7 separate regions of the Homo sapiens genome follow, and regions 2, 3, 4, 5, 6 and 7 are each linked to region 1. The links are contacts of gene promoters, found by promoter capture Hi-C in blood cells and fetal thymus (Javierre and others, 2016). All regions are on one chromosome and are shown on one strand. The core of a region is centred on a gene start or on the middle of the fragment in contact, and the rest is flanking DNA. Distances in the headings are between cores, read along the strand shown.

What was found. The method cuts DNA at HindIII sites, captures the fragments that hold promoters and counts their contacts. A CHiCAGO score of 5 or more calls a contact.
Region 2: a fragment that was not itself captured here is called in contact with the fragment with the promoter of KCNK17 in region 1 in 2 of 17 cell types (activated CD4 T cells and naive CD8 T cells); the score reaches 5.5 in activated CD4 T cells.
Region 3: a contact is called between a fragment that was not itself captured here and the fragment with the promoter of KCNK17 in region 1, in 5 of 17 cell types (activated CD4 T cells, naive CD4 T cells, total CD8 T cells and 2 more). The highest score is 8.5, in activated CD4 T cells.
Region 4: a fragment that was not itself captured here is called in contact with the fragment with the promoter of KCNK17 in region 1 in 1 of 17 cell types (activated CD4 T cells); the score reaches 6.3 in activated CD4 T cells.
Region 5: a contact is called between a fragment that was not itself captured here and the fragment with the promoter of KCNK17 in region 1, in 1 of 17 cell types (activated CD4 T cells). The highest score is 5.4, in activated CD4 T cells.
Region 6: a contact is called between the fragment with the promoter of DNAH8-AS1 here and the fragment with the promoter of KCNK17 in region 1, in 2 of 17 cell types (activated CD4 T cells and naive CD8 T cells). The highest score is 6.4, in activated CD4 T cells.
Region 7: a fragment that was not itself captured here is called in contact with the fragment with the promoter of KCNK17 in region 1 in 1 of 17 cell types (activated CD4 T cells); the score reaches 5.6 in activated CD4 T cells.

What each region holds. Positions count from the first base shown.
Region 1 is chr6:39,311,300-39,315,668 of GRCh38, reverse strand. It overlaps KCNK17 (potassium two pore domain channel subfamily K member 17), which reads left to right and starts at 1,250. Exons shown (of 5, transcript NM_031460.4): 1 at 1,250-1,585. The coding sequence starts at 1,349. It overlaps LOC105375047 (a long non-coding RNA gene), which reads right to left and starts at 1,713. Exons shown (of 3, transcript XR_926774.3): 1 at 1,445-1,713. It also overlaps a transcript of KCNK16 not described here. The HindIII fragment of the contact is 16,119 bases long and covers 179-4,369 here.
Region 2 is chr6:38,846,291-38,850,659 of GRCh38, reverse strand. DNAH8 (dynein axonemal heavy chain 8) reads right to left here. Exons shown (of 93, transcript NM_001206927.2): 37 at 1,859-2,012; 38 at 246-409. Among named protein-coding and RNA genes, the nearest start is that of DNAH8-AS1, 100 kb to the left of the region's middle. The HindIII fragment of the contact is 1,679 bases long and covers 927-2,605 here.
Region 3 is chr6:38,889,312-38,893,680 of GRCh38, reverse strand. DNAH8 (dynein axonemal heavy chain 8) reads right to left here. Exons shown (of 93, transcript NM_001206927.2): 58 at 2,920-3,029. Among named protein-coding and RNA genes, the nearest start is that of DNAH8-AS1, 62 kb to the left of the region's middle. The HindIII fragment of the contact is 1,166 bases long and covers 1,896-3,061 here.
Region 4 is chr6:38,911,703-38,916,071 of GRCh38, reverse strand. It overlaps DNAH8 (dynein axonemal heavy chain 8), which reads right to left. Exons shown (of 93, transcript NM_001206927.2): 67 at 2,120-2,223; 68 at 695-871. The region is part of intron 4 of DNAH8-AS1 (DNAH8 antisense RNA 1); the gene reads left to right. Among named protein-coding and RNA genes, the nearest start is that of DNAH8-AS1, 39 kb to the left of the region's middle. The HindIII fragment of the contact is 1,240 bases long and covers 1,115-2,354 here.
Region 5 is chr6:38,928,588-38,932,956 of GRCh38, reverse strand. DNAH8 (dynein axonemal heavy chain 8) reads right to left here. Exons shown (of 93, transcript NM_001206927.2): 75 at 3,291-3,446; 76 at 964-1,146. All of the region lies in intron 2 of DNAH8-AS1 (DNAH8 antisense RNA 1), which reads left to right. Among named protein-coding and RNA genes, the nearest start is that of DNAH8-AS1, 22 kb to the left of the region's middle. The HindIII fragment of the contact is 6,462 bases long and covers 1-4,369 here.
Region 6 is chr6:38,950,600-38,954,968 of GRCh38, reverse strand. It overlaps DNAH8-AS1 (DNAH8 antisense RNA 1), which reads left to right and starts at 1,862. Exons shown (of 5, transcript NR_038401.1): 1 at 1,862-1,921. It overlaps DNAH8 (dynein axonemal heavy chain 8), which reads right to left. Exons shown (of 93, transcript NM_001206927.2): 82 at 3,449-3,651. The HindIII fragment of the contact is 10,031 bases long and covers 1-4,369 here.
Region 7 is chr6:39,051,867-39,056,235 of GRCh38, reverse strand. All of the region lies in intron 1 of GLP1R (glucagon like peptide 1 receptor), which reads right to left. Among named protein-coding and RNA genes, the nearest start is that of GLP1R, 5.3 kb to the right of the region's middle. RefSeq lists enhancers at 1,134-1,633, 1,634-2,135. The HindIII fragment of the contact is 1,882 bases long and covers 1,014-2,895 here.

The DNA of each region.
Region 1 (4,369 bases), core at 1-2,500:
GAATGGCTGGCAGGGAGCATCAAAGAGAGGGGAGACCTGGGCAGAGACTTTGGAACAATCTTAGTGAAAAGAGGATCTCTGCCCTCAGGAAGCTCTCAGCCGAGGGGCAGGCGAGCTGCCTCTCAAAGCTCGCCAGCTCCCCTTGCCTAGAAGTCCAGGGCTGTCTGTGAACAAAGCTTAGGACCTCTTGGGTGTCCTACCCACTTTCCTGAACATGGCCTCCCCTGACCCTCACAGGCCACCCCCTTAACTTCATCACTCCCTCTGGGCTCCTGCCTTCTCAAGAGCCTTTCCAAACACCCCATGGGAAGCCAGAGAGCCAGCAGATCCCAGGATCCTTCCAGAAAGTGAGCTCCATGAACGTCTGGCCTCTCTCAGGAATGCATTCTCCAGGTCTGGCCTTTCCCCTGCCAGACTGCAACATCCCTGACCAGGAGAGATTTAGACCACTCCATCCCGGGGCCTGGAAATTTTGGCCTTTGCCTCTCCCATCATCCAACAGCAAGTGGGCTCCTATGTGGCTGGGTTCCTCTGCACAGGTCTGAGGCAAGGCTGTGGAGCCAAGGCGGCTCCAGGCAGGAGACCCAGGAGAGGCTCTACAGCAGCAAGAGGAGTCCAAGTCACACCCCAGGACTTCCCCATATCCAAGAAAGGACTGGGAAGCTGAGGACCCACGGACTCTTCACACAGCCTAGACGCTTCCTCCACTCCAGGTAGAGGGATTTCGGGGGCCTTCTCAGAAGCAAGGAGTGGACAAGCCTCTTGGTTAAGGCTCCTCTTACCTCCCAAGCTCATGGACAAGTGGCAATCAGCTGGGGTCCCTCTTTTGGGGTACAAAGGAAAGGACAGAGGTGTGGGAGACCCAAGGTGGTCTTGAGATTGACAGACAGCAAGTCCTTGGAGATAGCCCCCGAGTCCAAGAACTTAGGCAGGGGCCCCAAGACAATAAAGTTGGTCTCTACTATCTCCTACCTCTGAGTGCGGTTTCCAGAAGTCCCTCCCATTGTTCATTTCAGGAAATGTGAGGGGGCTCTGGGCCCCTTCCCTCAGCGCCTGCGGTCACCCAGCAGCTTCCTCCTTCTCCCTGGCCTAGGCCTAGCAGGTGGGCACCCCGCACACATTTGAGGCGGGGCCAGATGCCCACAGTTCAGAGCCTCTTTTTGTCCCGGGGATTGGATCCCAGGGCTGGGTGGGGCCAGGCTGTCCCATTCCCCAACACTCCTCCTCCCCGGCGAAACCGGGCACCAGCAGGCGTTTGCGAGAGGAGATACGAGCTGGACGCCTGGCCCTTCCCTCCCACCGGGTCCTAGTCCACCGCTCCCGGCGCCGGCTCCCCGCCTCTCCCGCTATGTACCGACCGCGAGCCCGGGCGGCTCCCGAGGGCAGGGTCCGGGGCTGCGCGGTGCCCAGCACCGTGCTCCTGCTGCTCGCCTACCTGGCTTACCTGGCGCTGGGCACCGGCGTGTTCTGGACGCTGGAGGGCCGCGCGGCGCAGGACTCCAGCCGCAGCTTCCAGCGCGACAAGTGGGAGCTGTTGCAGAACTTCACGTGTCTGGACCGCCCGGCGCTGGACTCGCTGATCCGGGTCAGGGGCGAGCGGCGTCGGCCTGGGCGCGGCGGGATGGGGTAGCGGGCCGCGGGGTGTACGGGCCGAGGGCGAGGGGGCCTATTCAGGCCCTGGTCAGGTGTTTCCTGTTCAGGGAAACGTCGGGAACGCAGACGCGGGCACAACGGGGGTGGGCGTTCCTGCGCGGGGACCAGAGGGTTGGGGGACCTCGGAGGAAAAGACCCTCGCCCTAGCGAGAGGACTGCGAGAAGCCGGGCTGAGTCCTACTTGGGGGCGAGAGGGCATGCTGGCCCGGTGAGGAGGCAGATGCCTGGGGACACATCCAAATTTGGGGGCGAGGACGACTACGGCAGGGGGCGCGCGCGTAACCGGCCCCGCCCGGCCTGACCCGGGAAAGGGCGCGTTTGAGCCTGCTTGGGGGTTGGTCGCACCCGCACCCGTGGCAAAGAGCTAAACGCCACACCTGGCCGCTTCCAGAGGGGGAACCCGGGCGCACGTTTGCGAACTGGGAGCTGGGACGGCAGGGGCGCCGGGTCTAAGGATGCGCAGGAGCGAGGGCGCGGCCGTAGGAGCCTGGGGGAAGGCGCGTTTGTCCCGGAGGGTGGGTGGATTGGGCCCGAGGCGTGCTGGTCGGGGCCACCCTCAACGCAGAGAGGGGGCTCGACGTGCGCAGACCCGGGTTCGAGAGGAGGGCGGACGCAGGGCCGCTCTCTGGCTGAACCCGCTTTACTCCGAGTCTTCGGACACAAGGACTGGGCGCGCCGCCGCCGCGCGGCTGCCCAGAAAGGCTGAAGGCAGGGTTCAGGGGAGGACTCAGAGGTAAATCTGAGCAGAGGCTCCTCAAGGGTGGGGCCTAGCAGGGCGGAGGAGGCCGGGGAGGGTTCTAGGGGTGGCGCATCTTAGGACTGAAGCGACGCCAGACTGGCAGCTGCTCGATTTGGCGGAGGCATTGATGTCCTGGGTCCTGGCTTGGTTCCCCACCCCTTCGTCCAAGAGCCCAGAGTCCAGACAGCTGCGCGCCAGCCCAGAATCCCCGTCTTGCAGTCCTGGTGGCTTATCCGTCCAGAGTCTCCAGTCCAAAGCCAATCCCCGGAAGGTGGCAGGGAACCGTGCCAGGGTGGGAAGGGACCCAGCGCGGAGCGGAAGTGGTGTTCTGAACCCTCGGACTAGGCCGATTCGGTGAGGTCAGGAGGTAGCCAGGGCCAGGCCTATCTCTACTAAGGACCTAAAGTGATTCCTCCAGCTCCCCACCTGCGGACTTCTGCAAATACAGCCCGACTGCTGGGTCCTGGTGCTGAGGCTGCCTGCCATTACCCTTGCAAAGGTGGTGAACTTCGACTACAAGCAGCCTGGGCCCAGGGAGATGGCTATGATGGTGATTATAATAACAGTAAATGCCTCTGTGCAGCACTTATCGTGTGCCAAGCACTGTTGCTGGTACTTTACCCGTATTCATTTGTCTCACCTCCCTCACAGGTGGGTACTGTTTTTATCATCCTGTTTCACCCTCACAGGTGGGTACTGTTTTTATCATCCTGTTTCAGAGGTGAAGAAACAGGCTCAGAGAGGTTACATACGAATGCATGGCTACATAGCCAGGAGCTGGAGCTGTTAACCAGCATAAATACTGCCTCAGTGTGGACCTGTGGATGTGGGTGCTTCCCAAGATTCCCAGCCAGGCTGTCATCTCTTTGGGCTTTCCCTTCAACTCCCTCCACCCCCACCTCACCCCCTTCCTCAACACTCCTGTGGCTTCAGCCAACTCCAGGAATAAGGATGTGGTATCCAGCCCAGATCTTTCTGAGCACCAGATGTGGACATGCAACTTCTGAAATTCCTCAAGGCCAAGAGCAAGTGGTCCTCCTCCTCCCAGCCCTGCTTCTCCACCTGTCCTAAATCTCGATTGTCTGCCCCATGTCCACACACCCTCACAATCCTCTGCAACATCTCCTTTACTGCCCATACTAAATAGGGCCAGAGGCCTGGGCTTCTGAATATCTCCTCTCTGTTCCTCCTGGACCACCTGTGCCAGGAGACAGGCCAGGGCCCGTCTATCACTCACTTCTGCAGGAGTCTCTCCCCTCTGGTCAACCCTTTCTATACTGCCAGCTGCCACAGAGCACACAAACCTGATCCTACTTCCCCTTTGCTCAGTGACCTTGGCTGATACCTGCGACTTCATCCCTGGCATGGCAAAGCCAAGCACAGCTTGGCCTCAATCACTTCTTACCAGTCTCCCTAATCTAGGTCCCAGGCAGTCTCACCTCCCACCTTCTGCACTGCTGTCCCATCTACCTAAACATCCTTCCACCAGAAGCAATCCTACCTGACCCTCAAAGGCCCAGCTAAAACATCCCATTCTCCATGAGGCCTCTGCTCCTACCCAAATGAGAATGAACATCCTTCTTCCCCAGAGTCCTACAACATTATATGCCTATATAATGCATATAGGCAATATAGCAACTGCTAACACCATGTGCCAGGTACTAAGTCTACACATAATACCTTATTTAACACAACAACTCTATGAAGTAGGTACTATTTGTATTACCATTATACAGGTAAGGAAACTGAGGCACAGAGAGAAGTTGAGCACCTTGCCCAGGATTGTGTAGCTGCACTTCCTCCTTAATGCCCAAAGTGACATTGACTGCATCATATTAGAGTTAATTAGGTTTATCTATGTACCACTGAGGGCTGGGGTCATGTCTCTTGTGGTCACGTCCCCTAAAAGCACCACACATCACGCCTGGCCTAGTGTTTGTTGCAGGAATGGGAGTGAGCAGGGGAGAAAATGAGTCG
Region 2 (4,369 bases), core at 517-3,016, 470 kb after region 1:
GTTGCTTTAAGCCAACTGTCTGTGGAAATTTGTTATAGCAGCCTGACGAAACTAATACAATGCCTTAACCACCCCCAAGTCAAAGGTGTCTTCCTCACAGAAAAGTTCAATCTATGTGAAATTTTAAGTTCCTAGCCCCACTTTAACCATCACTACCAAACCAGAAATGTAGTCAATACTAGTAAGTTTGGGATAAAACACTGTCACATACAAAATGATATGTGATTTAAAAATTAAACTCTTACCCTGTGAGTGACTTCTGACATACTTCCAACTGCTCATGTAAATGAGGTAAAAGTTGTCCCATGGTTTCATCTCCAACACAGCAATTAATCACATTGGGATTCTCATGAGCTCGCTGCATTATTTTTATCCAAGACTTGTCAATATTCTGAAAACGTTTTGCTTCCTGAAAATGCATCCATAGCCAGTAAAGATTAGCATTTGGATAATTGAAAAAAAGCAAAGTCTTCACCTTGGAATTTTCTATAGTTCTTCAAACCAGCCTCTATTAGTCTCAGGCTGCATAATTTAAACAGACAATTTTTTTTCATTTGAATTAATTCTGAGCGACACAAACCCAAAGTTATAAAACTGCATATTAAAATGCTTCTTTATCACAATGAGGCTTATTGCTTATTTGTTTCATTGCATTTAACATGTTTTTCAAAGTACCACATGATTAATTTGCAGAGCTATCAACTTAAAGTTCCAATCTAGTGTTTCAGCACCCCAGGTGTTTTGGTTTGAGGAGCAAACTGAAGAAGCATGAAAATAATTTGATCTCAGGATCCTTGGAATAATTACAGCTCAATAGTACCCCAAGGCGGGGAAAAAAAGAAAAAAGACAGTAAAGCCACAAAACAAAGTTTCATTTACATTTTCGCAAGTGAAAATTTTCTATTTACTATGAATGATATTAAGCTTTGTACTTAGCTGCAAAAATGCCTCTAGCAATTGGCATAATCTTTCCTCTTTTAAAAATACAGACTTCTGATTAAAAAACAAAAATGATACATTTCAGTTTAATGTTTTAAAAATGTGCTATTAGTACAAAGGAAATCGGCCATTTTCAAAAAAAAAAAAAGCAAAAAAAAAACCTCTTTTATCCTTGATTTTTAACCTATATAGATCTTGCTTGTAAATACAGAAGTTTAGGAAGATCAGGCTTAATTTTCTAATAGCAAAGTTACCTTCATCGACTAAACCTATCAGTTATTACAGTTATTGGCATTTATTTAAAAGGCCCCAATAGAGCTGTTTTAAAGGTTTTGTTACAGCCTCCCAAGGCTGTTTTCTTGCTCCACAGCATGTTCTGATCTGCTAGTAGTAGACTTAGTAATAATTAACTAAAGTTGATCTGTGCTTACAGAATATAGATTAATTTTAATATTATTCTCAGAGGAATATTATGAGGTTAACTCTTAGAAGACATGAACTACTATAATAGTACTGCATTTGAATGTACCTCACATCCTCAAACAACCTCGAGATTATTCACTGTTTAAAACTATGTAAGTTTCTTCTTTCTGCTAATCAGAGGTCAGCACTTCCTAAAAAACTTTTTCTGTGAAGGGCCAGATAGTAAAGATTTTAGACTTTTTGGGCCGTATAATCTCAGTTATAACTACTCAACTCTGCTGTTGTGGTGCTACAGCAGCCACAGACAATATATAAAAGAATGGATGTGGTTGTGTTCCAATAAAACTTTATTTACAAAAACAGGCAAGTGGGCCATAGTTTGCCAAACCCCATCATAGTCAAGCCTTGACCATATGTCTTTGTGAAGACTTTTACAGAGACATATAGACAACATACACCAAATTATTTTATCAGTAATTACAAAAGCCATATTTACCTGAGGCAGCTGTTTGGCAATATCTCCACCTACAAAGACGGCTTCAAGATAAACCCAAAGGTTCTGTACTACGAGCCACTCTTCAATTATATCTGAGGAAGTGGACAATTTATACACCCAATTCTGGATATTTTTTTTAAATGGAGCATTGTATCTAAAAGGTAAGAACGGAAAAAATCACATTTCAAAGAAGATTCAGAAAATAGTATGGCCTTACCGAAGTAAATTCCAGAAGAAATATTACTTTGGGAATGAATGTTTTGTCCTTAAAGGGCAGTTCCTAATAGATATCATACAGCTAATAAAAACTGTTGCTTTTCATGAATAAAACTCATATAACTGCAGTGATTTTACTTATTGTTCCCATGTGTCAGTCATAGAATAGGAGAATGGGCCTAGTTTTATGGTGCATAGGTCCAGCAAAGGAACTGTGCTGGTTGCTTCTGGGAGTAAATGCCAAGCAAGGAATAAGATGGTTTTCCAAAAAGTCTGTGAACCAAATCCAAGTGGGGTCTGCTTGTGAGAGTAACATGTGAGACACTGTTACTGGTCTGTGGAACTACTGAATCTAGGAAAAGAGAACACTATCCAGGGATTTTCCTTTTATGAATGGTCTTGAAGGTTTCATCCAGCAAGAGACAGACTATCTCTAAAGGGACAGGACAAATCAGATCCCTAAAGATCAGGAGAGGGTTAGGTATCACCAGGTTCACCTGGAGAAGATGACCGCACAGCCAGAGTCAAGCTTGAAGTCTGATGTTCACTTACAGGTGTGCTCTTCCCACCCACAGAGAGAGAATTACACCAGGTACTACAACTAGATTCTGCAGAGCTAGAGACCCAGGGTTGCTACCCCCATATAGCAGGGCTCCTGTTTTCTGATCATCAGGGCTTGCTGAAGTGTTTATGAGAATACAAGGGGTCCAGAAAGCTGAGCACAACAAAGGAGGACAAGAAATAGAATGGATGCCATGGAGGAAGCAATGGGAGGCTACTGGGTAAAAACCCCAACTACCTACAGTTAGAGCAAGAAGCCGACTGCAGTGTGTAGCAAGGGCAAGCAGTTTCAATGTGGTGCAGTGACATTTGCTGGTGAGTGGCACTTGTTGACTAGGATCTTCAAACTTCTTCTGATCTAGGACAGAGTGATTCACATGTAGAATGGGGTTTTTTCTGGGTACGGTCTGATGCCTGAATACAACTCATAATTTCCCTGAAAGCCTATGTTATACATGAAGTTATAAATGGAGTTGTACATAAATTGCTCTAAGGAGGTAGGTAATCCAGTTGTTCAGGCAGTAAGAAGCATTTTTCCCAATACTCAGTTTATGCTGTTTCCCTGGCCACTGGTCGAGAGCTGAAAGGCAGTCAATATGCCAAAAACATCTTCCAAATAAGGACATGTAAACCAACATGGCATGGGCAGGCATTTAGGGAGATGAAGCAACTAGATAGGCCAAAATTGTTCTGCACAGAAAAAAAAGAGTCATCCTTGATGGTGTATAACTTCTAAAGATGGAAAAGGGAGATCTGAAATAAAATCGAGCATAGCTAGTTTCTGTCCTTTGGCTAGATACCTGCATTGTACAACTTTGTGTGGTCAAACCCACCATGGCCCATGAAGTCCCATGGAATCAGGGATCCACCAGGGAAGTGTCACAATCCAGGCAATACCTACAGTCAAGTCTTACCGAAGGAGACATACAGCTTCCTTCTGAAGTCACATCAAAGTAGTCCTAGGGATCCAGCAGGTATGACTCACTACTAGGTCAGTCTGTGGTTAGTTCTGGAACAGGCTTTCCAGACCTACTTGGCACTGCAAAGTTCTCTAGGAAGAGAATCTCCCAGAATTTGATGACTTCTTAGCTATCCTTATACTCTTTCTGGCAGGGCCTAGAAGTTTGTAAACATTGAGTTTACTAATAACACAAATAGGTATTTTACTCATCAGGTTATGTCCAAGTAAGTATGAATTGAAGAAAGCCTTCAAATCCTGAATTTCTTGGCTGCAGACACTGCCCAGGTGAATCTACAGCCCTTCATCAAGAGGTCATCATCCAGGAAGTCAGATGGGCAAAATTTGCAATGAACCATAGGGCAGCAGTTGCCCATGAAGTCTAGGAAGTACTGAATATCCTATGGTCATCTTTGCCAGGATTCTCTGAACACAGAGGATGCATCCGAGGACCTTGACCTTTATATATTCAACCCAGAACTCCCTGGACTGGCAGCTTTGTCATTATGCAAATACAAGACTGCCCCTGGAGCCAGAGGTCATGCAGCATGCAACTCACTAACCAGTGATCCCAACGTGGAAAAGGGATATTAGCTATTTCTTAGGTGTGTTCAGGTGAAGAATAGTTGAGAACTACTGCACAGTCGGCCAGAGGAATAGAGGTTGCCAGTGCCAAAGACCTGACAGAATATTTAATCTGAGTCCTACAGGAATTTCCTAAAGCTGCACTCAAGATCATAGGCACCTCCAAGCTGGTTCGTAGTTCAATGATGAAC
Region 3 (4,369 bases), core at 1,229-3,728, 420 kb after region 1:
AGATGAAAATAAAAGAAGTGTATTTTATCAATCACCTATCAACTTCCCTCTTTGCTCAGTTCCATTGCAAACTAAAATGTTCATCCTACCCACTAAAATGTAAAACATATAGTTATATTACAAGTATGTAAAAATACTCAAAGCGGTAAGGTTATGTGAATATTGCTTTTTTTATAGTATAACACTCCAGCCATGACGGCAGCCATTGGTAACTGAGGCAGTCATTAAAGAGAATTCTGTAAAAAAAAATTCCTTTCTTTCCTTCTTCTTCTCATTATTTGTTAACCTGCTTCTTTCCTTCTCTTCTAATATTTCCCTCTACTTTTCATCACCTTCTTTCTTTTCTGAACTGCTTCTGCCTTAAAGCTATATAAAGTAATACAAAGGTGGGCTGATAGACAAGGCATGAATGGATCAAAAGAGTGCTTTGTGAAGATGGGAGATTTGAAGAAAAGATACAAAGAAGGCTGCTTATGTAGAGGTGGGCAGAGGAGGAAGATTCATTCATTTTTCAATGACTGAGCACCTCCTTGGTTCTTAAGAAGACACAGTGGTAAACAGAGGACAGCTAACTCTGCTGCCATCAAGCGGGCTTTTATTCCAGTGGGGAGAGCCTGAGAATGAACAGGGAACAAATATATATGTAAATATGCAAATAATGATAGAAGCCATGGTTTAAAAAAAACCAGGGCCAGGAGACAGATAATGACTAGGATAGGGACAAGTGCAGTCACTTTAGAGGATGATTGGAACAGTCGCTCTGAAGGTAAGAGTGATGAGAATGAGCCAACGTATGGTGGCCCAGCAACGCAATAAACCTGGGGTACTCAAGGAATGGTGAGCAGGGCCATCGGCTGGAGCAGGTTGGTGGCAGGCAAGGGAAGTAAGCGGAGTCTGCTGACATTGTAAGTGGAACTGGGAGTCTACTGGTGGTTTTAAGAAGGAGTAAAGATTTCTGCTTTACTTTTTAAAAAATATCATCTAGGACTGTGAAAAGAACAGACTCCAAGAGAGCAAGAAGAAAGCAAGGAGATTGGTTAGGAAGTTACTGCATGGTCCAGGGGACAGGTGATCGGACCACTTATCAGGGTGGTCACGGGGGGATGGTGAGGAAGGTTCAGCTTTGGGGTAGATTTTGAAGGGGAGGTCACTGAGATTCACTGATGGACTCGATGTAGGCCATGAGGAAGACATAAATCAAGGATGGTGCCCAGTAATTTTAACCTAAGAAGCAGGATAACTGGTGCTGCTACTAAGATGCAGAAGTCTGAGAGAGGATTGTATTTAAAGACATTTAGGAGTTCTGTTTGGACATGGTAACTTTGAGATGAGTATCAGACATCAAACACTGATGTCTATTAAGTAGTTAGCAATCGGCCTGGAGCCAGGTAGAGAGGCCTGGGATGGAGATATCCATTTTGAAGTCATCAGCACAGGGATGATGTTTAGAGCCTTGAAGCTTGATGAGGCCACCTAGGGAAAGAATGTAGATAGAGAAGAGGGCCTGGCATCGAGACCAGGTGCATTTCAGTGTTTAGAGGAGGGAAAGAAGAAGGGGGACTTTAATGAGGTAGCCAGTGCACTAGGAAGAAAATCAAGACTATGGGGACCCTCTGAAGCCAAGTGAAGAAAATATTTAGAGGGATCATTTAGGTCAAATGCTGCTAAAGGATCATTTAGGTCAAATGCTGCTAAAAAGTCAAGTAAGAGGGAGAGGAAAATTAACCTTGAGATGTGGCAAGATCAAGGTCTTTGGTGGCCTTGACATGAACAGTGGGAATGAAAGCTTGTGCAGAATGGATTAAAGAGGTAAAGAAAAGACACTGAGGAAATGGAGCCAGGAAACATCCAAATACCAAAAGAAACTGATGGAAGACAGCTGCAAGGGCAAAGCTTTTCAGAGAACTATGTATATAAGCACAGTAAATTGAGCAATAATCCTATTGGAAACCACATGTATCTTACCACGGAAAACTATCTCAGACGCTCAGTCCTTGCAACTCATTTCTGAGTTTCTTTAAAAGAGGTGCAATGGCATGTGCAAAGGCCCTGTGTTGGCAAGGAACAGGGCCCCACACTCATCACTGAAGGTGGCCACATGGAAGAGCATCTCATAAGAAACCCCCAAATTCCTCTTCCAATAATTGTGTATCTAGAAATCCCCCAGTCTACCCAGGAATCTGAAAGGCTGGCACACTCAGGTTTCCCAGGAGACAAGTGCGTGCCCACATGTGTATAATTGGCCTAATGGATGTGTAGTGAATTACGACAACTAATCCTTATCTCCTTCATGGCTTTTTGTCAAATATATCAACCTCATTTTTATCTCATACCTACACTTAATTGCCTTTTCATGAGTACTGCCCTAAGTCATCTGGGGACAGCTGCAGGTTTGCTGAGCTTTACTTAGGACACTGACTTGTGTATGCAAATCTAGCCAATTTTTGTTAAGAACATTTCCATCCATTTACTAACTCACGCTCCTGCTCAGAGAAATACACAAGTTAGACTTCAAGTCCTAGTTGGCTGAGAATATCTGGAAATCCATGTATTAAGTCAGTCAATAAGCATCTGAGTGTCTGACATAGTTTGGTAGAAGGAGACAGATAATACAAATAAAGATTTACAAATCAGAGTAACAAGTGGAAATGCAGTGTTCTCATTTCAGCAAAATTCTACTTTGTCTTGGATGTCATGTCTGGTTTACAGTAACATCTCATACATACGGAAAGCATCATTTAGTCAGATCATTTGCTCCCTGGAAGGAAAAGGTGTTGTAAATCTATTTGAGCACGTAATTTGTCTTTTCCAAAAAACACCACTATATATGATATTATGATAACTTAATGAGCCACGAGGTGTGATCTAGGGCTGAATAATAGTTGCCTTTTTAAAAATTATTGACAAACCATTCTGTACCTTAGTCCATTGCCACAGCACTCTACCCACTGAGACTAAATTCACAATCATCTCACATATTTGAGGCTTGAAACTTCTACAAGGATCAAAGTATCCACATCCAATAATTCCTGAAAGATAAGCAAGATTGAAGGTATAAGCTTACCAAAAGATTTCCAAGTATATGTTTATCCCAGTAAACAAATCATTACAAGGCTGACTAAGCTGGGTGTTGTTCAGAATTTCTCTCAAGGGATCAGCTAAGACTGGGAGTCAGTAGTGGATCCAGCCAAGCTTAGTACGCAGTGATAAGTGTTTTATATGTATTGACTCATTTAATCCCCCACCCAGCACCCTACAAGAAAAAAATACAAGGTAGGTATTATTATTACTAGTCCCATTTTAACATGAGCTTAGTAACTTGCTCAAAGTTACACAGCTTGCATGCAGACAAATCTGAGATGTGAACCCAAGCAACCTGGCCCTAGAGTCTGTACATCAGCATTCACCCTGAAGCATATGTGAGCTTAGAGAGTACTCCCTCATCTTACAGAGAAGGAGACCAGGCCCAGACAGGTGAAGCCGATTGTTCAAGGTCACATGGACTGGTATTGGCAGAACTGGAATCAGGACCACTTTTTCCAGCCTACAGTCAGTCACCACTCTGGCCTGGGCTAGACATGCAACATTCCTAGGGAACACCCAGCAAAGTGATGGTCTGACCATCATTATGACTCTCAGAAAGACTGGGGTGTAGGTTTAGAGACTGTTCTCAAAGTCTCAGAATGTCTTTGATTTAGACCGAAGAAAGATTTACTCTGCTTCACTCCAGTGAGACTACACACTGCAGAGTGTGTTCAGTTCTGAGCATGGTATTCTCAGAGGAATATGAATATCTGCTCAGAGATGCAGAACAGGTTGATGAAGAGTGGAGACTAAAGAAACTGGAGTTTGTTCACACTAATTGAAGAATTGCCCTGGGGAAACATGAAATTTTCCTCCAAATCATGGTTGGTTGTGCTAAGTGCCTGTAAAGTCCGTTTGCTTCCTGAAATCCTATATTCTAGATTTCCACCTTCCTGTGGGACAACCATGTTATAAGAAGCATGAGATAGGGATTAGCAACACCCATCTGCCAAGCACTAGCTAAAAGGCCTTGATTGGGCAGTTATCTCACTTCTCTGAGGCTCAGTTTCTGGTTGGTTTGTTTTCCGTATTTGTTTAAATGTGTCAGTCATACTGAAGAGTATGTCAAATAGCTTAACAAATAACAAACGCTCATGTACAGACCACCAGATTGAAAACTACAACCTTGCCCAGCACATTAGAAGCCCTTGTACGTTCATCCTTGTTCACAATTCCTCCCTTCTCCAGAGGTCGCCACCTCTCTTTAATATAATCAGTAACTTGCTTTTCTTTATAGCTTCACCACTTAGGTTTTTGAACTTCTGAACTGGTAAAAAAAAAAAAT
Region 4 (4,369 bases), core at 485-2,984, 400 kb after region 1:
ATGCTCACATTGATTCTTTAAGGATCAATGAGAAATTATAATCCCCATAGAAACCCAAGAAAGTTAAGCAAATTTACTCCAGATCATCTATATGTACATACATACTTATATGTGTGTGTATTAGCAGTGTGTAAGTATATACACGTGTGTATATATGTGTGTATATATCCACATATATATACATGCACATATATGTGTATGTATGTGTGTGTGTGTGTATGTGTGTGTGTGTGTGTATTATATATAGAGGTTGAATGCAGGTCTGCCTGCCTCCAAAGCTGTGCCCCTTTTGCCTCACAGCTGTGGATGTCTAGCTCAGGACTTTATCCTAAGAGCAGTGGGAACCACAGGAAGATTTTAAAAGGGAGCATGACATAATCTGGAAGGGATGCTGGAGAAACTGAGCAGGCTCTCTGCGTAATCTGAATTTCTCACAGTTTAGGCCACTAACCACTAGCATTATTTCTCAGTTCTCATGGAAGACCAATTTGTGGGATGAAAATAATATAAGAGGGGAAGACTTTAAAAAAATTAGAACTTAGAAAACTGAATTAATTGACACATTTGTTTCCAGACTCAGAGATTATCAATCACATTAAGAATTCAATTCAGTTTTCTGATGAGTTAATTTCATGTAATGAAACATGAAGCCTTCTAGGACTTGTGTTGGAAGGGGTAACAATGCACTGCTCACATTCAGGGCTGCTTCTGCTTCTTCCAGTGCAGGTTTAGCTGCCTCAAGCTTGCTTTCAGCTTTCACTTTTTCACTATCAATTTCATCCACAATTTTTTGGGCTTTGTCCTTTACCTCCTGTACTTCATTTTTAATTTTGGCTGAAGCCTGAGCGCTTACTGTGACTTCTGCTAATACCTGTTAAGTTGAGGAAACACATGAAAGCCAATAGAAACCTTTCAAGCAAAATTTATAGATCTGAATAGTGAGCAAATATTTATTCAACATAATATAAAACACGAATAAGAACAAACTTATTTCCTAAGTTGTCTATATTTTAAGGTATATTAAAGTAAATTCCTTTGAGCAGTTCCTCGCAGTCTTCCATTTTCTAAGCTTTTCTTAGGCTTAGAATATATATATAAATAAATATTTAAAGCTTTCAGAAGAAATAGTATTTTCACTCTACAAATTTCTAGAAAATTAAAACAATTCAAGTAAGTATCATAGAATAAGGGCAAAAAACCATTTTAAGCCTTGTATAATAACAATAAAAGAAGCTAATGTTTATTGAGTGCTTACCATATATGCCAGGACTATGCTTAAGTGCCTCCCCTATGTTAGTTCACTCATTTCAGCAACTGGCTAAGGATCAAGACTGAAGTATCTATTCTTAACTGACTCTTGGTGACTGGAAGCTGAAAGTCTGAGACTAGAAGGCTGTATAATAGATAAAAAAGCAGCACATAGGCCGGGCACCATGGCTCATGCCTGTAATCCCAGCACTTTGGGAGGCCGAGGCAGGCGGATCACAAAGTCAAGAGATTGAGACCATCCTGGCCAACATGGTGAAACCCCGTCTCTACTAAAAATACAAAAATTAGGCAGGAGAATCGCTTGAACCCAGGAGGTGGAGGTTGCAGTGAGCCGAGATCACGCCACTGCACTCCAGCCTGGGCAACAGAGCAAGACTCTGTCTCAAAAAAAAAAAAAAAAAAAAAAAAAAGAGAAAAAGCAGCACACATATATACCTATCTCCTTGAGAGGAGTATGGATTTTTCCTCTTTCTTTCTTTTAAAAAAAAAAACTCTACCAACTCTTCCTCGATTTGGGCCATCCCAGAAACCTGGAACATACAGGGACCTTAAACAGAAGACCAAATATAACTCATAGTCAAGCAGAAATTTCATAAACAGATGAAAAAGAACAAGAGAGACAGACAGAGTGAGAGAAGAAATAATAGTCTTAGGCCAAGTAGCAAAATTAATAGTTCAGGTATACGCTGGTATAAGTTAAACAAAAATGTCTAATGGTCTTTGTGAACACTATCTTATCAGGAATTGTCCATGGGTTTATACCCTGCTTGTTCTTTAGTACCATTTTAAAACAATGCATTTTAATATGGAAAAATATTCCTCATCAGTGATAAAATAAATGCAAACTCACTTCGTCTGCTTTTATGGAAGCCACTGCCAACTCCTTCTCCTTGACTGCAAGATCCTGAGAGAGTTTAGCAACAGATTCACTTGCCTCCATTAGTTTATCAAGACCTTTACAAATACACACATATATACCTTTACTGAGTACAGGTATATGCCTTCATCAAATATTTATTCAATGTTTACTATTTATTAGGCACTGTACATGTAATATAACAAACACAAAATTGTAGACAAAAGCTTTAAAAATATACATGTCTTAAAAGCAACAATATTGACCATATTTCTGAGTTTCAACAGGAAGGCAAAGAAAATAGCTCTGACCGAAGAATATCACGTAGCTACATTTAAGGGAAAGTCACAATGTCCTATTGAATAAGATTAGTTTGGCCAAGAAACTTATTTGACAAATTTATGCTCTCTGTGGCTTTGTAAACAGTTTGTAGCTATCATTTTTTGCCTTTGAATCATATTGCAGCTGAGGTGGCAAATGAAATAGAAAATATATTAACATTTTTGTGGTTCTCTTTGTTATAAAAATGAAAATAACTGTGAAAACTTATGTAATGGACTTTGCAACTTTTAGCACCGTAGAGAAAAAGAACTGGTTAACTGAATTGCTCACATTCCAACGGGTTCTAGGTAGTGGGATGTTGGTAAATATTTAAATCTGGGTCACTGGGAAAAGGGGAAGCCCTCATCTGTATATTGTCCAATTTCTGTAGTGTAAACACTCCCACCATGGCTGATTTCAGGCTACCAAAAGATTCTCAGTACCACACTGTTATGTAATATTCCTACCATACAGACAGAAGTAAATAACCTCAAGAACATTGATATAAGAAAATAGAGTAGGCCGGGTACGGTGGCTCACCCCTGTAATCCCAGAACTTTGGGAGGCCAAGGCGGGTGGATCACCTGAGGTCAGTTCGAAACCAGCCTGGCCAACATGGCAAAACCCTGTCTCTACTAAAAATACAAAACAAGCTGGGCATGGTGGCGCATGCCTGTAATCCCAGTTACTTGGGAGGCTGAGGCAGGAGAATTCCTTGAACCTGGGAGGCAGAGGTTGCAGTGAACAGAGATCACGCCATTGCACTCCAACCTGGGCAACAGAGCAAAACTCTGTCTCAAAGAAAAAGAAAAAAAAAAAGAGTAAAACTAAGAAGGGATGAGTTTGAGCATTTATTGCCTTTATTTTAAATCCAATTTGTTTAATTGTAAGTATACATGAGTTAATTTTTAATAAAAGTTCTGTTTAACAAGGAGATCACAAAATTCCTAAAAATTTAACATTGTGTTCTCAAAAGCCACTATGAGTTGGCTTCAGCACACTACTGATCTAAAGCATCATATAGGAAAGCTGCAAGAAGCTGAATCATGAGAAAACCGCAGAAGAAGCCTTCTTTCACAGTCTTCTCTCATAACTATGACTTCACAGACCTTGGCGCTGTTATGCTATGTGACCAAGTGGTTTTTGTTTTGATTTTTTCTTGAGACAGGGTCCCACTCTGTCACCTAGGCTGGAGTGTAGTGGTGCAATCTCAGTTCACTGCAGCCTTGACCTCCAGGGCTCAAGTGATCCTCCCACCTCAGCCTCCCAAGTAGCTTGGTCTACAGGCATGCACCACCACAATGCCTGACTAATTTTTATATTTTTGTAGAGACAGGGTTTCACCATGTTGCCCAGGCTGCTCTTGAACTCCTGGGCTCAAGTGATCCGCTTGCGTTGGCCTCTCAAAGTGTGGAATTACAGGCATCAGCCACCATACTCAGCCCCTCAAGTTTTATTTAGAACTTGAAAAATAAGAACTAAGGTGTTTTAGATTGTTTGGGCCACATGCTTTCTGGACATATAATCTCTTCCAATGTTTACTTTTGCTAGTTATACTACATATAGCAGACACTTGGAAAACTCTTGCTTAGGTACACAATCTCTTTTTGTTTTTATTTGTTTTTGCTTCTATTTTGCCTTTTTCTTTATTAGAAATGTAGGGAAAATTAACATGGCAAAGTTTATACAAATCAAGGCAAATCAAAATGAAACCAAAAACTGAAATTGTTGTCCATTCCCAAAAGCTGGCTTGTCCCCATCTGCCAGCAATGGCTCAGTGACTCAGCACAGGGGACCCAGAGTTGAAAGAGCCAGGAGAAATGGTTCTGCAGAGAAAATAGGCCACTTCTGTTTAGATTTTCTTCTGTTCAGAGTTTCTCGACAGGTCAAAATACCCTCAAGGCCATCCTTTAAAATTATCTA
Region 5 (4,369 bases), core at 953-3,452, 380 kb after region 1:
GCTGAGACTGTGCCCTTTTCACTCCACCAGACCAGCCACCTTTCAAGGGCCTGTGCCTGTGGTAACTGTCTATGAGCCAGGTAGGATGTTGCCTTTCACTGAGTCTACTTCTTTGGTGTCTGTGTCATTTCCCTCTCCCTTCTTGGATGTCTCTCCTGTGTTTGGGACCCTGGATTCACATCTCCTCTTTTCCCTCCTCTGTCTGTTTTCCTCCCTTGTCATTCTTTTTCTCACCCATCCACTTCATGCCTTGCTGCTCTTATTATTTCTAACCTTGCCTTTGTCTTGAATCTTTAATTCTAAAATTAATTACTTTATCATATTTTATGCAAATGTACTTTATAATGCAGATACATAAAATATTTTATGCAATTATATTTTATGCATAAAACAATGTTTTCTGAGCTTCAACTTAAAAATTAGTTTAATCTTGTATCAGTCTCTTAAAATCTTCCAGTCCTAAGTTGTTCTTTGTTTTATTAGAACCCTCAGTTAGACATAATTTCCCTGCTTTAGTGCAGGAAAATTTAATTAAAAATAAAGGTATGGCTCCCTATATCATTAGATTATTGGACTGTAGTAGTTGAAACTACTACAGTGGAAAGAAGAGCCATTCAGAGGAATTTCTTTTTCTCTCAATCATTGTTTTATTGATGTTTTCAGGTGTCCCCAAGACAAGGACTATACATAAGAGAGTCAGTACACCTAGAAGTTTAAAGACAGAAGTAGAAAGAGACGGGTGTGTGTGTGTGTGTGTGTGTGTGTGTGTGTGTTTCAGGCTGGATGAGAAGATGAGTTACATGATTTCTTGACAGGAATTAAGGCTGCAAAAGAAATACTTATGTTAACAAGGATAAATATGGTTTTTAAATTTTTTTTTCTTTTTCACATACTTAGCAATTTCTCAATACATTTTAAGCATGTATTATAAGCAGAAATTCTTTACCTTGAGAGAGAGATTACCTGTTTCTCTGTTAGAATGACTCTCCTTAGTAACTGATTCTCAAGTCCTTTCATTGTAACAGTGAAATCAATGACTGACGTTTTAGCATTAATCTCTGGGGTAAAGGCAGGATTTGGTAACTTCGTAGTAATGTAAAGTTTAAATGTATCCATGATATCACATTCCTTATCACCGACTTTCACCTACATAAATTCACATATAAAATTAAAAACAGCTTAAAGGGCAGGGAAAGGAACTTGGGTTCAATTTAGAAAAGAATTTACCTGTCAGTGCTGTGACGCTTCAATAAATTGGGAAGGAAAGTTACAAAATTTTAATCACTGATCTTAAATAATAAAGCCTATTCAATTTAGAATAATTTAGAATTGTAGTCCTGCCTGGTGATGTTTTTAGCAATGATACCAAGCAAATCAAATGAAAAAGTTATCCAAAACAAACGGTGAATAAAGGAAAACTTAGACATATCTAAGATTTGACTTTAACATTTTAGCAAGTACTTATCACTCCCATCAATTGTTTGTAGTACAGGAGCCGCTATTTTTTCTCCAGTTAAGAAAATTGTTTCCTACTGTGGAAATTTGATGTGTTTATAGGAAATTTTGTTTTTTGAATTTCATAGGTATATCTGAAGCATATTTGACAACAGAAAAAGTTAATGTAATTTTCAAAGGAAAAACGCCAACTTTTTTCAAAAAGGTAACATTTATCTTCAACACTACTATTTGCAGCATGTTGAAAAAACAATTGGTTTTTGCTATCTAAAAATCAGGTGGCAATCATAGAATTTTTAAATGACTTAAATCTCTGGTTAATCTTAATTCTGCCCGTGACCGAAAACATCACTAAGGCCACCATCACATTCTAAGGCATTATGCCTTCACATTGCAGATAAAAATCTAGGATCTTTTAAAAGACCTTCGGGAATAGAGATTCTATAACCTCCTTTGGCATATTAAATATGTCATATAAGATAAGCCAGACACAGATAAACACTGTATGATCTCACATGTGAAATCTAAAAAAGTCAAACTCATAGAAGCAGAGAATAGAACAGTGGTTGCCAGCAAGATAGGGGATGGGAGAAATGGGGAGATGTTGGTCAAAGGGTACAAACTTTCAGTGATAAGATGAACAAGTTTCAGGTATCTAAGGTACAGCATGTGTGGTGATGGATGTGTTAATTAATTTGATTGTGGTAATCATTATACAACGTATATGTATACCAAATCATCACATTGTACAGTTTAAATATATACGATCTTTACCTGTGGATTAAACCTTTTTAAATGCAGTTCAAAATTGTGGATGAGTCCATAATATCCAAGCCAGTCACCAAAATTTTGTTCTTAGCTTCTTTTTATGAAAAAGAGAAATTCTACCCTCTAATCTTATAGAATGATGCTAACCTTCAGAACACTAACTGCGTTTTATTTATTTTTCTCCCTATAAACTCATAAAGGCTTAAGTATATATTGGATGCTCCATAAACCTTTGCTGAATGAATTTTTTAAAATGCGGCATATAAAAGATTTTCACATTATGAAGAAAATTTTTCTGAATAAATCTGTCTTTATTTAATGAGAAAATATTCATTTTTACTTATTCACTGATACTCATGAAATTAAGTTGTCCAAAGTAATAAACACCCAATCAGAAATGCTGTTATAAAACTTAAGAAGCCTAAAGGTAGAGAATGACACAAATTAAACATGAAACACTTATACAAATTGAAAATAATTCATCACCAACAATTGAGAACAATATTCCATAGCTTCCAACAAAGTCAATGAGTTTAGACTGAAAATAAAGAGATAAATGACCAAATCAATGTGTTTATTAAAATGACTTTATTAAATCAATGACTTTACCAAATCAATGACTTTATTAAAATGTCATTTTCTCCAGGGAAGAAATCCGGGTTATTTTGTAAAAATGTATATATATAAGGCTTGCAAAACCAATATCTAGAGTTGCTTAAACATATATATACTGTGTGTTGCACTAACATATTAAGACCAGACAATGTGTTTCCTTAATGTTACTTAGTTTTAGCTAAACGACTACTCTTATCAAAATATTGCCCCCACCTCAGAAACTTTTATACGCTATAAAAAATAAAAGGAAACACTGAAGTATCAGTCTGGAAATAGTTTATTTCCGACGTACCAAATACTACTGCCTAAAGGAAATTGCATTTGCTGCTATGCTCAATAAGATAAGTAGATGTCACCATTGTTCTTTTCTTTCTTTCTCTTTCTTAATTTTTTTCTTTTTTTCTTTTTCTTTTCTTTCTTTCTTTCTTTTTTTTTTTTTTTACAAAGCTCACCTTGAAAGTGGTGCCAGATTTAATAAAATTCTTTTCTAATACATTATCCAAGGCTGGATCCAGCTCTTCATGAATGTCCTCAATGAGAAGGGGTCGGCCCAAGGAAAGGCTGTCCTCCAAGTGTGTGCGAAAATATTTATGGTTCAGAGATGTCACCTAAACAGAAAGAACTCATTGGTCTATCTGTGTTACAAAGAATGTGCCCATTGCTAAGGGAAACCGAGAGATTTGTTGGACAGGTAATCAAGAATTTTAAGGGCAATAGAAGAAGACTTACTTAAAAAAATTAAAGTAACATACAAAAATTAATTTCTAAAACTTGGTGAGTCATGATTTTGTTGAATGGGGTCTAGATGTGTAATGGGGTCTCTATGATCAAAAGAGGAGGGTTAAGGGGCATTGCTCAGATGCAATGTCAGAGTTCTGCTCCTGACAGATGGAAGAGAATAGTCAAGGATTAATCCTTTCAAACTTACATAGCTATAATCGCTCAGAGAAAGCAAAGCAACTTGCATATCTGGATATTCATTTATTTTCTCAGGACCCCTACAAGATGAGTAAGTGATAAAAAGTAAACATAAGAATGTCAGAAATGATATATTGAGTCGCACTGAGGGTCTATCCATGTATTCTGTCTCCTATTGGCACTGGGAAGAATTTAACACTTTCCGTAAAGTCAACCTAAAAGACTAGACATTCACTTTATATATGCTTACATTTTTTTAAAACTGCAATTCTGAATTCCTGGTTGGGTCTTCGTGTTTAGATTAATGCGTTTGTTATTAGTTAAAATAGACACACTGTAGTGGTTCATCTCTGCATGAGCCAATTGGATTTGAACCCTTACTTCACCTAGGATCCCTCCCCCTGCCTAACTGTGAAGATTCCCAAAGGCTCATTTCTCAACTTTTTGTATCCTATCTTCTGAATTCAACTAATGCCTTAGGCTATTGTGGGTGCAGACCATAAGATGCAAGGAAGAATCCACTGGGACAACAGGCGATTAGGAGAATGGAATTAAATATGTATCTCTCAATTACTATGATAAAAAGAAGATATGAAATATAACAATTAAATCA
Region 6 (4,369 bases), core at 613-3,112, 360 kb after region 1:
GTATTCTCTTTTTCCATCTTTTGGAACAGAATATAGCATATGAGAGTCCTTGAAAGTTTTAAAGGACTTATCAGAAAATTATCCAAGCCTAGAGCCTTTGCTGATGTAATAATTTTAAAACTTCTACTTTTTCTCCCCTTGATTATTGGTTTATTCAGGGTTTTCTACCTTTTCTGAGGAAATTTTCTAAATTCATATGTTTCTATAAATTTGCCAATTTTAATGAGATGCTGTAATTTATTTTTTTTTTTTTTTTTTTTTTTTTTGAGACGGAGTTTCGCTCTGTCGCCCAGGCTGGAGTGCAGTGGCGCGATCTCGACTCACTGCAAGCTCCGCCTCCCGGGTTCACGCCATTCTCCTGCCTCAGCCTCCCGTGTAGCTGGGACTACAGGCGCGCGCCACCATGCCCGGCTAATTTTTGTATTTTTAGTAGAGACGGGGTTTCACCGTGTTAGCCAGGATGGTCTCGATCTCCTGACCTCGTGATCCGCCCGTCTCGGCCTCCCAAAGTGCTGGGATTACAGGCGTGAGCCACCGCGCCCGGCCTGTAATTTATTACTATAATTATGAGCCATTCTCTTATTATTTAAAATGTTAAAATGTTTCATCTGTACATATTGTTATATCAGTTTTCCCACTACTACTTTTGTGTGGTTGTGGGGTTTTATGTATTTGTTCTCTTTCGTTTGTTTTTAGGTGTTCTTTTTAAGCCCATCCTTCCTCTGAGACCTCCCTCCTCCAGTAGTCAGGCTCCTAGAAAGGCTCTCGTGCTAAACCCATCTGCTTTCTCCACTTTGCCCATGTACCCAGTACTCTGTGCAGAGTTTATCTGCTCCAAATTTCTCACTACAGATCTTGACCAGTACAAGACAATATCTATAACCAAAGTTTCCCTTCTCCTCTTTTTCTACAAAAACTTATTGATTCTGTCCCATCCGTATGTTATTTTCGGGTAGCTGGTTAATTCATTCAATGAAAACAATGAGAAGGAATGAAAAAGAAAGACCAATGAGATCACTGAAGTGGGGTTCCTGAGATAAGTTCTGAACCAGATCTGCCACGGACTAGGTCTGGGGCCTTATCTCCAGACCATAGTTTCCCCCAACTGTTAAAAAAAAAAAAAAAAGTAATTGGATTTCAAGATTTCCAGTCACATTCACCTGAAGCATTCTATGATTATTTATTATCCAGATTTTCAAATAAAATATTAATAGCTGAGACTACATTAACATGTTGTTCGGTATGTGTAATAGTTCCATTTTAACAGCTATCTTTGGGACTTTCAACCCAAAGCAGCAAGCAGCCTGAGACTTCCTAATACTGCTCAAATGATTTGGCAGTAGAATTGTTTATAAAATTCATTTGATCCTTCAGTGTTAAAGCCAAATCTATGTTGTTCCAGTACCCTAATAAAGTAATCAATAGAAGCCTGGATTGTTGTTGGAAAAAGTAAGGTAGGACCAAGAAACGGAAACCACCAAATTGCCAAGCAAAGCAGTATGATAACACTAAAGGATATAACACAAGTCTGCCCTTCTGCATTCATTTAATGTCAGTTATAATTTCTCCCAAAGGAGACCTTGAATTTTTTAATTATGTTCTCAAATTACAACATTTGAAATGGTAACTCTAGTTGAATACTCCTTCTTCTAGGCGTTGTATCTTCTAAGAAATGTCCCCCATTCCAGCTCTGTACATAAGGTTTCTACTAGGAACCTATCTCCAGAGCGACAGTTCATTGATTGGCCCAGAAAGGAGTGCATGACCAAAGCAAAGACAATGAGTTACTTCCCTGGATATTGGAACTTGGAACCATGACAATAAGAGGAGTTTCCCTGAGGGTGCTGAACATTCTGAGCACGTAAGCAGTGAAGCCCATGAGCCACTAGAAGCCACATGTTCTGCCATGTGGAGAAGAATGGTAAGTGTTAAGAGAGAAAAAATATACCTGTGTGCAGAGAGAAGTGAGGCTTAGAGGCAGCTGGATAAACACTCATAGAGCAACAGATTTGAGAGAGATTTGCAAACTATAAGGCTACTCGAGAGGCATCACTCTGAGATAAACTCAGACGGCTGGTGTGCTGCAGTAAATACTAGAGCAAAACTGCCTACTTTGAAGATAGCGAATGAGACTTAACCATGAGCAGTTGCCAATAGAACCTGGGAGCTCTTTGCATTGGTATCAGTGTTCAGACAGAAGACCGTGGCCATTTGAACACTGATCCACTGAGAATATAGAACAGTGTGGTGACAACAAATAGAGTGAAGTCAAGATGAGAAAAGAGAACATGAACATGGACCATGCTACCGTAGCTTGGTTTTATGCAGAGGGACATGTGGCTAGTACGTGGACATGACTGAATTGATTTTATATCATGCTTATGTCGACTATGTAATAAATTTAATGTAATTTTACTTCACAGGATAGATTTAGTGATTCATAATCAATCACTGTAATACTCAAAAGACATGATTGGATTAACCCTACAAGGTATAGTTACAGATACCTGACCCTAGAAGATTGCAAATGCCAATGTCAACAGCATTCCGATTTTCAGAGTATGAATGAAGCAAGGGATAAACAGTCCTTCTTACAGGATGGCTCAGTCCTGTCAAGAAAGTCCTTCTTACAGGATGGCTCAGTCCTGTCAAGATGTGCTCTGCATCCCTGTCCTTTAATCCTACTGACTCAGTCACACTTATAAACACTTCTGTGTTTATAACTTCTTTCCCATCTCCTCTCCCTGGAGTAACTTTCTATCTCCCACCACCCCACCTGGTAAATTTTATCTATTTTTTAATTTCCTACTCAAATATCATCAATGTGATGTTTTCCCCTATACCCCAGGCAATCCGAGTAGCTCTGAATCCTGTGATCAGCCACTTCTATGAAACATTTACTGCAGTTGTCACATTGCCTTCAATTACATGTTTACGTGTCTGTCTTTCCCAGCTGTGTTGTATTCATCTCTGTGCTCCCCAGATCTAGCACACTGCCTGTACTGAATGGTTATTAAGTGAAAGCAATGAAATAATTAATCCCTAACTACTATGCATTACAATAATGGTTATAGTTTTTTAATTTGTGACAAAATAAACTTTGCTGTAATTTTATATAGACATGGCAATAACATAAACTTTGGCTATTGTGTGTTCATTCTTGTTAGTCAGCTATCCATGCAATACAGCTATCTCCTTAGAACTTAAAACACAACCAATCAAAAAAAAAACACTATATGCTAGATGAGCATGTTCTTCTCTAAACAAAGATACCTATATCATACCCTCACTTTAGGAGGTATGAAAGGATGAAAGAGGAATAAGTTTAATATTTTTCGAATTCAGTTTTACATCTATTTCTAAGAATCAGTTATAAAATTACGAAAGGCAAAATTTGGGGCAAAAAAATATGGAAGTGTTGCTACATTTTGTAGATTGCTAGTCTTACCCAGTTTCAGTTTCTTGGCCAATGCATCAATTTGATTGGTGGGGTCAGATCCCATGGACAGGAAGCATATCAGAGGTGTCCGGGTATCACTTTCTTCCCAAGTTTTCTCCAGATTTAAGATAACTGGTTCTGTGTACTTCTCCTCCAAAGAATCTGCAATATACTTTCTTGCTTGAAAAACAGTACGGTCTGGGCACCAAGACCTAAAAATGAATACAAGTTAGGCGAAATAAACTAAACGTGTTCAATTTTTATCCTATCTGAGTAAGTAAAAACATACATTTAATTAGCAAAAGGGCAACAAGTTAATTCCTACTTTTCCACATCTAAGTAAGAGGAATGGCAAGGTTTCCTATCACAGATGAGCACAAACTTAATCGTGTGGTTTTGGTACCAGCCAGGCATTGGCAAGAAGTAGGGCAGAGCCCATAACAACACAGTGTCCTCTACCAGCTCCAACACATGGTAGGGGCTGACCTGCCACACACTCTGAAGCTCCACAGCCTTTTCAGAGGAGGAACCAATATGCCAAAGATGCCCAAAGTAAGTGGGTCAGCAAGCATTTGTGGCATACCATTTGTGTAGTGCACACCATAGCAAGTTCTACACACACAGACACATTGGATAAGTGTCATTTAATATTGATATGGTAAAGCACAGACAAGCCCCACAGACTTTTTTTTTTTTGGTGCTACTAGATTGCACTATTTGACATAGATCTAATTTTTAAGTGACGGATTAAAAAATAAGACACATTTGTTCCAATAAAACTAAGTAGCCCTGGCCAGGCACGGTGGCTCATGCTTGTAATCCCAGCACTTTGGAAGGCCAAGGCTGGCAGATCACGAGGTTAGGAGATCGAGACCATCCTGACTAACACAGTGAAACCCCATCTCTACTAAAAATACAAAAAATTAGCCG
Region 7 (4,369 bases), core at 705-3,204, 260 kb after region 1:
CCACCCAGGGGCCCCAGGTGGATGGTTTGACATCTTCATTCCTCCCAGGGTGCATAGCTTGATGTGTCACGAGCACCCAGCAAATGTCTGCTAAATTGATGCTTTTGGGGAGGTGGGTGGGTGAAGGAGGAAAGGAGCGTGTGTGTCTCATTTGTGATCTCTGATCTCACTTAGGAGAGAGACTTTCTGAGGGCCCAGGACTCTAAGCTCCTTCTGGCGCCTAGTCAGCCTGCCTGAGGGCTTCTTGCACTTTCAACCATTCTAGAAGAAGACACACAGGCCAGAGTGGGAGAGGAACTGAATCAAGGGTGCACAGCCCCCCCAGGAAGCAGAGTTAAGGCTAGAATCTGGAGTCCTTCAGATCAGTGACCATGGTAGAATATCGCAAGGTGTGCGGGGGCCGGGGAGAGTAGTGGCGTTCAGGGCTACAAAGAGCTGGGATGTCTGCCATTAGCATTCCTCCTCCAAAACGCACTCACTTACAGATGCACTCAACACAGCACCCCCCACCCCCTCCCCGTGCTCCCCTCTGACACAGCAACCAAATCTAATATTCAACCCAGCTTCTATCCACCCAAAGGAAGAGTCCTGAGGACATGAGGTGAAGGGGTCAGGGAGGTTCCAGAACACTGAAGTCACACGTGCAATGGGAGGGATCCCTCTCACCTGTGAGTAGGGAGAGCTGAGCCTCCACTTCCAGTGAGGTCACCGAAATGGCTTTTCAGCACACAGACCCAAACAGACCCATCCCACTGAGAATCCACCATTCCTTCTGAGTGTTTTTGTGCACTTCCTTCAGCTATGTCTTGGGGTTGTCGTTCTTTTTAGTTTTTTCCTGAACAGCCTTAAAAATTATAAATATTCGTCCTTCAGAGGCTGCAGATGCTGAAATGACCCAAGAGCCCCATGTATAAAATGTAGGACCCATACATAATTTAAAACAACATTTTGCTTTTTGAAATCACAAAAATGTCCACGTGTGCTGAAATTAAAATAGCTTCTTTTTAGAAGCTTGCCCCCTTGCCTTGTAGCGTGCTGGGCACATGCTGGATCCAGTCTCGGGTTCTAGCTGGCTTATCACACACCTCCCTGAGAGACTTGGGTTGCCTTGCTCACCCCTTGCTGCCTCGGAGGCCCCATGGAAGGGCCCAGCTCACTTTAAGCCCCAGCAGCATCCTTGGCATAAGTGTGCCAAGGCGGCAGGGGCTACCCTGAAGGACAGAGCTCTTCTGAGGGCAAAGGTCAACTGTATTTGCTTGGGGAAAAAAAGAACAAGAAATCAAACATAACAGCTGCAAAGGTGTTGTCCATGATATTAGCCACAGCTGAGGAGGTGGCACAGTTTTCATCAGAGCAAGTCCTGGTGGATCAACCCCCACCGCCCCGTTTCCCTTCTCACTTCTTCCCTCTTCTCCGGGTAAAGGGCTCTTCCATGCTGCCCCTAAATGCAGCAGCTGCTGGGGGTGGAGGGCAGAGAGACGGAGAAATCCCCCTTGGTTTCTGTTTCTAGAATGAAAGCAGACCACACACAAGGTCACTGCTGGGAACTGGGGCAGAAGGTGTGTCTGGGGCAGGCAGAGAGGTATGGAAGCCAGTTCTTCCCAGAGGCGGGGGGAGGGGTTAACGACAGCGCCATGAAGGCCAATCTGGCCTCCTGCACCCCAGGGCAGCGCTGTCACCTACTCTGAGCAGAGCTGTGGACATAAAACTATATTCAGACTGGGGCTCCCTGAGGACGGGGCTGTGTCTCCCCTCAGACTGGAGCTTCCTGAGGATGGGGCTGTGGCTCCCCCTTAGGTGAGGGATTCCTGACAGTAAGAGTATCTTGTCCCCTCCCTACACCAGATCAGGGCTTCTAAATACCTTCGAGCCTTCATCCCACCCCTGCAGGCACACACAGTGCAAACTACCCAGACTTCTGGCCTCTCCCACGCCTCGTATTTACAGAAACCATAACTGTGCCAGGTTCTGGGTGGTCGTGGGTGGAGGGGAATGCAGGGAGTATAAAGGTGACTGCAGGAGCCCTGCCTGAGAGAGTCTTCAGGCTACTCGGGGGTCAATGCTTTACAGGACAAGTGACATAACAGGGAAGGCAGTGGGTGAAAGTGTTCAGGGAGTGGTTGGGGCAGGGTTCAGTGCAGACTCAAGAGGCCTGAGGGATTGGGGACTGTGAGGTGGGGCTGGGGTGAAGGGGGTTGGAGGCAGACTGGGCTAGCAAGGAGGAGGGCGGGCACTTCAGCAGGAGGGCACAGCAGGGAAAAGGTACAAAGGTGGGGACATCAGTGCTCCGGAGAGCAGAGGAGAGCTGTGGACTGTTATCAGGAGGATTTTTTGGGGCAGGGAGAGAGTGGTGGTGGGCCCTGGGACAGATGGGAGGTTCTGGTCTGGGGAAAGACTGAGTAAATGAGGCTAGGGCCACCCAGTGCCATAGGGCCTGGGTGCCCAGGTAACATAGTGGAGGCTGAACAACCCTGGCCTTGGGCTCAGATCTGGGCCTGGACCTGGGTCACCCAGATATTAGGTTTGCAACCGAGTGCAAGAGTTGTATGTTTTAGGCTCAGCTTACACTTGTGCAAAAGGGAACAGCAGCCCCTCCCCCATGGGATGGCTGTGGGGACTGAGTTAATGCTTAGGATGGTGGGCACATGGAGAAGGCTCAGTCAATGGCAGCAATCCCCATGATTTCTACTGTTTAGTGGAAAGGGCAGAGTGGGAGGGAGTGACCAGGCTTCCTGGGGACTGGGGCCCCACCCCTTCCTCACTTCTAGGATCAACATATTCCCAGAAAGAGGAAATGAATATATGTTCATGTCCAATGACCAATCATTCTGCTTAATTTGTGAGATCTTCCAGCAGTAACCACAGCCAATGGCAAAGTGAAGCAGGGAGGAAGCTTTGGACCCCATGCCCTGTGAGGAGGGGCAAGGCCCTGCCCACCAGTGTCCCCCACTCCTCCATTTCATCCTCCCACAACATAAGTCCCTGCTGCAAGCCTGACAAGGTGGGGCTGTGGGTTCTGGGTAGCGGGAAGGATGCAATCCAGATGTCCCTGTCCCTCACAAGGCAGCAGAGCTGACCAGGAGAGCAAAGCAGCGGTCAGAGGGGGTCTAAAGGGCCATGGGAAGGGCAGGATGGCAGTTTCTAGAATCAAGACTTGACAGGCTTCATGGGATCTCTCTGAGGTGGATGAAGGCACGTGGAGACGACACCTGGGTTGGAGGTTACAAGAAGGAAGGGGCATCCCTCAGATTCAGGAGTTTTTGGAGGAAGCAGGAGACAGGAAAGAGGACACCAGGAGGGAGTGGTGTGGTCTACAGGAAGGAGCACTGGACAGCGATTTATAAGTTCTTGGTCTAAATCCCAGCTCTGTTAATGCAGGACTGTGGGACACGATTTATCTTTTAGGACCTCAGTTTCCTCATCAGTTGCCAGTTCTGCCGTCCATAAAATGGGCATATCATTCTTCTCAAACTGCACAGATCCAACAAGATAAAGCAGGTGAAAATCTTTGTGACTTCTCAAGCCCTGTACAAGCAGGCAGCGTTGGAAGGAAGGACAGCAGAGAAGGAAGCAGGTGGAGTGGAAGCCCCCGGGGTGGTGGGCTTTCCAACACCCCAGGAAGGGGCTCCCTCTCCAAACACTGGCTGCCAATCTGAAAGGCACTCCTATTTCTCAGTGCGAATAAGTGTATCAGATTCTTTCTTTCTCTGGGGACCATTTTGGTGACGGGAAGGAGGTGGCACAGAGGTGGGAGACATGCAGGAAGGCCTCTCAGAAGGAGGAAGGAGGGATTCCAACTCAAATTTCTGGAGTCCCCCAACTAAGTCCAGCCCTTCAGGTTCCCTGGCATCTCCTCCCAGGACCCCAACCTCCTTCCTCTGTGTCACCTCCCAGAAGTCAAATCACCCCTTCCATCAACAGACCCCTGTCTCTTTGACCGCCCCTTGTTTTTCTTTCTTTCTTTCTTTTTTTTCAAAAGCTCAGAGCTTACAATCCATTTTTTTTCCCTAAGGGCTTTAGATATCTGAACGAAAGGACAGGAAAAGGAATACTACACACATGTTCTTACAGTCACAAAAACCCCCACGTGGACACACGGTCACACGCATCATCACACACGCCCCCAAGCACATTCCCAATACTGAGACACTGACACAGACTCTCTCCCACCACACACAATCACTCACAGACTGCCAGGTACACAGTCGCATGCTGAGACACTGTCCCCAACACACACACACAGAGGAACACACAGACACTCTCACATGCACACTATCTCTCCTGCACATATAGACACACACTAGTTGACACCCATTCACACACCAAGATGCCCCCCCCCCCACACACACACACAGACCCTCCCACAGAC